Regions from separate parts of the Homo sapiens genome. Here region 2 is linked to region 1. The links are contacts of gene promoters, found by promoter capture Hi-C in blood cells and fetal thymus (Javierre and others, 2016). All regions are on one chromosome and are shown on one strand. Each heading gives the region's core, a stretch centred on a gene start or on the middle of the fragment in contact. The rest is flanking DNA. Distances are from core to core; before and after follow the strand shown. Region 1 holds the start of ZBTB8B (zinc finger and BTB domain containing 8B). Region 2 overlaps NHSL3 (NHS like 3).

Region 1 (3,397 bases), core at 447-2,946:
CACTTCCGTCTTTCACTGGAAAAGCCTCCTTTCCAGAAATAGCACCTAAAACCAATTTCTTTTGGCTTTCTTACTGAAATTATTTTTTATTCTATTGCAATTATTTTTATTCTACTTCCTGACGTTGCAAAAGTCTATCCGTATAGTATTTTCTTCAAAATTTTCCCCAATCCTGTACTTGGTATATATTGTGTAAATATTTATTTATATCACCCCCATTTGCCTGAAGTGCTCTGCTGCCCCGGGAAGTGCTGAGGATCACCACTTATCCCAGAAGAGCAGCTCTTAGGGCAGACTGCTCTCAGAAGCACATTTATCCGCACTCTGGCAGGGAACCTCCCAACCATCCCACGGTTCCAACTCAATTCAACGGTTACCGGCTACATACAATGCCTGACACAAGGAAGATGCCAGGAATAGAAAAATGAACCAAGTATAGTGCCTGTCCTCCAGGAGACAGCAGATGCCAACACAACTACCTGCAATACAAACTCTCATATACCCTTGAGGGAGTCCTAGCCAGATCACACAACTGTCTCTGTTCAGAGGCCAAAAGCAGCCTTGAATTCCACCTCCGACCCTTTCTGACAAGACTCCTCCAGTCCCACCAACCTGAGAATAACAAAAACCTGCTCCTCAATTTTAGTAAATATTAAGCACTATTCCTTATAAAACACTGTACAAAGTACAAGCATATTCATTTTACTTTTTAAATTAAAATTTTTAAAAGGCACGGTCTTGCTCGGTTGCCCAGGTTGGAGTGCACGATCCTACCTCAATGCAGCCTGGAACTCCTGGGCTCAAGAGATCCTCCCAACCTTAGCTTCCCGAGTAGCAGGGACTACAGGTGCGCGCCACCATGCCTGGCTTTTACAAGCACATTAGTTTTCACCTCACAATAATCCAGTACGACAGATACTCTAACTACATCCTCTTTTTCAGAGGAGGAACTGAGATTCAAAGATGCAGATAACATCACCAAGTTAGTAATAGAACAGAGATCCGACTGACTCCCGGGTTGACATCCTTAACCACTATGCTAACCGGCCTCCTCAAACCCTCCAGGACACGATGCGACAGGTTGGGGAAGTCACTCCTTTCTTTTAGGCATGGATCGGAGGAGAAGGACACTGGAGAAGTTTCCATTTCCATACGAAGAATTTCAGGGTCAACTGCATCTAAACTGCTCGCAAGACAGACCCTCCCCCGTCCAGCATCAGACGACCTGCAGAGAGGCCACCAGAACCAGCTACAGGGCACGGCCCCCGAGGGTGGGACCCCAAGGCCTAGCCCCTCCCATGGCCTCCCGCGGACAAAGTGGCCATCGCTGCCGCTGGCACTTCTCCAGTGTGGCCGAGCCCCCCACGCCTGGGCACCATTCACCGTGGAAGTAGTCGGCGCCGCGACCCCCGGCTGGACGACGCGGAGGACACCCAATGACAGGGAAGCTGGGGCCCCACGGCCGCGCCTGCCCCTCCCCACGCTAGAAGGGCTCGCGGGGCGGAGGTCCCAGGAGTTGCCAGGGCCAAGCGGTCCGAAGGAGGATGACTGAGTGGGGGCAACCCTGCCCGCTAACCCCAATCTCCAGCCAGCCTCCCGGGTGCTAGGAATCCTCCCCAAACCAACGAAAGCGGCAGCGCCAACCCGCTTCTTCGCGCTCACCTTCCAGCGGGTTCCAGCAGCGCAGCCACGGAGCACCGCGCACCGACACGCCCCCCTTTCATTCACCTGGCGCCCTCCGATGAGAGGCGGGGCGGCTGGCCAATCGCGGGAGCGCCTGGCCTCGGGAAGGCGGGCCCTTCGGCCAGCAGGGTGGTCAATGGCGCTGGTGCCCCTCGGAGGATGCGCTCTGAAGGCGCTGGTGCTCGCAGGGTGATGGGAGTTGTGGTCTCAGCGCTGGCTTTTCGGGTAAAGATAGAGTGGACAAAACTACAAGTACCAAGATGCCAAAAGGGGCGAGGACCAGTGCTAGCGAAAGGCTGCAGCTCGGTTCGGTCTTTTGAGTCCCACTTGAGGGACCTGCCAAGTACCGGTCTCTTTGTCTGGAGAGCGAAAAGCACGTCGTGGGTATTAATGCAGTCCAGGGAATAAGAGCTTTGACTCATCAGTCCGCACATATTTCACCTACTGGCGCTTTCCGCAAAAATCTGGAAATAAGGGAAATGGTTTAATCGATTCAACAGGTTTTTATTGCATACCCGCGGTTTCTTTCACTGGGTAGTCGTTACAAAAGATAAAAGATTCAGCTCTTCCCTTGACAGGCTCTCCGGTTCATACATACTAGTGAAACGGTTAAATGGCAGTACTAGGTGCTAAGTGACCGTACAGGCGTGTTCTTGTCAGCTGTGAGCAAGACAAGGCAGCTTACCGCTCTCAGGGAGCTTAGTTCTCATGGGGGTGTATTCGTTTGCTAGGGCTGCTGTACCTAAGTATCACCAACCCGGTGGCGTCAATAACAGATCTTATTGTCTGACAATCCTGGGGGCATCTGAAAGCAAGATGTTGGCAGGGTTCTTTCCTTCTGAGCGCTGTGAGGAAACGGTCTCTTCCAGGCTTCTCTCCTGGGCTTGCATATGGCCATCTTCATGTTCACAGGGCATATTCCCTGTATATGTCTCCATGTCAAAATGTCTCCTTTTGGTTGCAGTGAGTCGAGATCGCGCCACTGCACTCCAGCCTGGGGCGACAGAGAGAGACTCCGTCTCCAAAAAAAAAGTATTTTTATAAGGATACCAGTCATATTGGATTAGGGGTTCACTCTATGCCAGTATGACTTTTTTTTTTTTTTTTTTTTTTTTTTTGAGACGGAGTCTCAGACTCTGTTGCCCAGGCTGGAGTGGTGGCGGGTGGATCACCTGAGGTCAGGAGTCCGAGACCAGCCTGGCCAACATGGTGAAACCCCATCTCTACTAAAAATACAAAAATTAGCCGGGCGTGGGCCAGTAATCCCAGCTACTTGGGAGGCTGAGGCAGGAGAATGCTTGAACCAAAGAGATTGCAGTGAGTGGAGATCTGGCCACTGCACTCCAGCCTGGGCAGCAGAGCAAGACTCTGTCTCAAAAAAAAAAAAAAAAAAAAAAAAGGCTACCCCCTTCGCTGAGAGACCCTAATGAGGAGTAGTGAGCCATGCTAAGATAAAACAGAAAACCGGTTGGTACATATCTAAGAAACAGGAGAATGCCATTGGGTTGAGGAAGTGGATGGCAGGTAGACCAGCTTAATGGACGTGCAACCCACGCAGTGGCACAGGCCCGCACACTCAGAAAGGGCTGGTGCTTCCAGGTGAGGTTTTATACTTAACAAAACAAAACAAAAAAAGAGCCAGGTGCGGTGGCTTACACCTGTAATCCCAGCACTTTGGGAGGCTGAGGCGGGCGGATCACTTGAGACCAGCCTG
Region 2 (3,397 bases), core at 410-2,909, 300 kb before region 1:
AAAGGCATCTGGGCCCTGCAGGGGCACAGGTCTCACGGCAAGGGCAGTCATGGTCCCCAGACTGCACACGGCCATTGCATATACAAGCAATGCCCCCTTCCCCAGTCTGGACACATAACCCACAGTTCTGGAGTAAACACTCAACACACACAGCCCCCATATACACAAACTACACCCAAGTGTACATAAATCTGAGTACCCACACCACACAAAGGGCCCCATATAAGGCCCCACACACAGGGCACACAGGTACACAGGTCTACTGTGTACGTACACAGCACTCACAGATGTCATTCATGTATATAAACAAAGGGCATCCGAGTATAAACACACATAGGTACACACACCAAGCACACCCAGCCCGCACGTAAACACACAACACCCACAGTCCCTGCTCTGTATATACACAAACAGTAACCAAGTATACACACGACTATGTACTCACACGTCACTCAGAGCCCCACAAAAAACATCCCGAGTATACACATAGCCCATAGTAAATACATTGCTCTCGCCTCCATACCCAAAACCCCACTTCACAGGAAAACAAACCACTCTTTTCATGCCACCACTTGAACCAGGTCCAGGAAGAAGATATCACGGGAAATCAGGAAGGAGAGACAGCTGGCATGAGTTACAACCATATTCCCAGAAAATCCTAGGGGGGATGCAGACCAAGGAGATAGCCTCCTGGGTCCCCTACTCACCCATGTGGCTGCCCCTTAGTGGAAGGATGGGCAGGGGAGGGGAGAAGAAAGACCCAGGCCCCTCCACCCGCCCAAGGGAGCTCCAGTCTCTCTTGGGGAAATAGTCCCAGGTATCCCCCTCTCCTGGAGGCCCTGGCCCTGGCCCTGGCCCCTGTTGCAGAGGAGCCAGGGATCCATTACAAAGGATCCTGTTACAAGCCCCGCCTGTGGAGGGGCTGGCCATCTAATCCTGGGGATGGGGGGCTGTGTCAGCACTTTGCAGCCCCAGCCCCCCCTTTAAATGAAACCCACAACATAAGCAAAAGCGCTGGAAGGGTCATGTGACCTTGGTAACACCTTATAAAGGGACGGGAACAAAACAAGCCCTTTAAAGGGCCATGCTCCAGGAGCAGGGTCTTCAGTTCAGAAACCTGCCTTTCCTCCTCCCTCAGCCCATTCGTCAACAGCCAGAGCTCCTGCCCTAGGGAGTCTGCAGGAATCCCACAGGTCAGAGCTAGGAGGCCCCCAACAGATCCAACCAGACCAGTGCCCGAGATCCCCAGATTTTACAAGTGGGGAAACGGTTCAAAGGGGCAAGGCCTTGCCTAAGGTCACCCAGCAGTAGGAGTCAGACTGACCCTGGACTCAACTCCAGGTTCCCAGAGGGGACTCCCGGATCACACTCAGAGTAGGGGCCCCCAACCCTCAAAAGTCCAATAAACTCTTGTCCCTATGTCTTAATCCAGGTCTGAAAGCCCAATTCCTAGGAGAAGGAAGGAGGAACAGGCCCCTCCCTCCAAAACTTCTCCATTCCCAGGCCTCTAAACAGGATTTCACTGAGCAGGCTTCCCAACTTCCAGTGGTACTACTCTCCTCTCTTCTGGGCCGCCCACGTCCCATCCTCCCCGGCACACTAGGAAAGGCTAGTACATCTTGACTGGGAGGCTGTACCCAGTAAAGTGTGGGTACCCCGGCAGGGAGGCAAGTCTCACGGGAGGGCTGCAGGCTTCAAGGTCAGAGACACCTGGATCCATCCTCCCAACCCACAAGCAGGGCCCAGACAAAGGCAGCAACAAAGCGGCTGGACAAAAGCACAGCCGGATGGGAGATTCTGGCCTCATTATCAGCCCCCAGCCCCACCCCATTACTTTTGCCCAGCCTTGATTCCTCATTCTACATAAGGGTCTGGGAAAGGGAGGCATCGAGCATCCCTCCCCTCCCCCCAAGCCACACCCACTCACCCTTCTTCTTAAACAGCCCTAGGAGCGCCGGGAGGCGGCGGCCAACGAACACCACCATGACTGCGGGCGCCACTCGAGACGTTCCCTATCCCACCCTGCCTCTCCAGAGCAGAGCGCGGGGCGTACCTTCACTGTAACCCAGCACTATGGGGATGCGAGCCCTCCCGCCCCGCCGCAGAGCACCGGCTCCAGACAGAGGAGGGGGAGGGGCTGCTCTCCATGTCCTCCTCCCACCTTCGCCACTGATCCCGCCCATCTGCCGACCCCACCCCTTAAATGGGGTGCAGGGGCACAGAAAGGCAACTGAGGCCAGGAGTCCGTGGGTGCTCTGCTCCAGTAGAGTATGATTAGGAGGACCGAAGATACTCAATCCAGCAGCAGATCACTCACCCTGCCTGCAAGTCCAGAGTTAAGGCAGGGGTCCCAGCTGCCAGATGGTAGGTGGAGGGGCTACCAGACTAGACTTGGCAGGGTGCCCACCTGCAAGCCTCCTGGCTGCCTAGCGTAATTCCCTGGGGAAAGAGCTCGGAGCCTGCAGCAGCCAGGCAGGAGCCCAGAGCTGCTAGTGGGATGGCAAGGCTGTGGGCAGAGGCCCCCAGAGGGGCAGGGGCCAGTCCCAGGACACAGTCCTGGGAAGCCAGGGAGATGCCCAGAGCAGAACCACAGTGGCTGGCAGTACAGCCCCTCATACATAGGTTCAGCCCCACACTTTCCAAAGGACTTTCTTCCTACTTTGGCAATGTGACATCAGAAGCCCAGAGAAACACAGTAAACTCTCCAAGATCACACTTAATCTTGCAGAGGCTAGACTTCAAAGCAGACCTCCTTCTCCCCTAGCCTGGAATTCTTCACATTGGCCCCACGCTGTCAGTGATTCTGTCCTGGATCACCAGGCAGGGAGAACAGAATTAGCCAAGAAACAGTCCATGGGTGAAGGCAGTAAAAAAGGAGGTGAGGTGGAGAAGTACTGGAAAAGAAGTCAGGTCGAGGTTCAAATCCAGCTCCATCACACAAGTCACGATCTCATATGAAAATAAGGCTAATAACTCCTCTTTTTAAGATTGCTGTGGCTCACGCCTGTAATCCCAGCATTTTGGGAGGCCAAGGTGGGCAGATCACTTGAGGTCAGGAATTCGAGATCAGCCTGGCCCAACATGGTGAAACCCTGTCTCTACTAAAATTAAAATTAAAAATTAGCTTGGTGTGGTGGTGCATGCCTGTAATCTCAGCTACTCGGGAGGCCGAGGCAGGAGAATCTCTTGAACCTGGGAGCCGAAGACTGCAGTGAGCCAAGATCCCACCACTGCACTCCAGCCTGGATGACAGAGCAAGACTCCATTTCAAAAAAAAAAAAAAGAAAAAAACAAGATGGTTGTATCCATTCACTTGATCAGCAAACATGTGTTAACCTAGTACTAGGGACTATAGTTAATGGAGAAGAACTTTATCTTGTTCACCAGTTTATCCCCA

What was found. The method cuts DNA at HindIII sites, captures the fragments that hold promoters and counts their contacts. A CHiCAGO score of 5 or more calls a contact.
Region 2: a fragment that was not itself captured here is called in contact with the fragment with the promoter of ZBTB8B in region 1 in 1 of 17 cell types (M1 macrophages); the score reaches 5.2 in M1 macrophages.

Annotation. Positions count from the first base shown.
Region 1 is chr1:32,463,371-32,466,767 of GRCh38, reverse strand. It overlaps ZBTB8B (zinc finger and BTB domain containing 8B), which reads right to left and starts at 1,696. Exons shown (of 4, transcript NM_001145720.2): 1 at 1,663-1,696. The HindIII fragment of the contact is 8,233 bases long and covers 1-3,397 here.
Region 2 is chr1:32,764,358-32,767,754 of GRCh38, reverse strand. The region is part of intron 1 of NHSL3 (NHS like 3); the gene reads right to left. Among named protein-coding and RNA genes, the nearest start is that of NHSL3, 24 kb to the right of the region's middle. RefSeq lists enhancers at 327-1,220, 1,221-2,113. The HindIII fragment of the contact is 3,729 bases long and covers 1-3,397 here.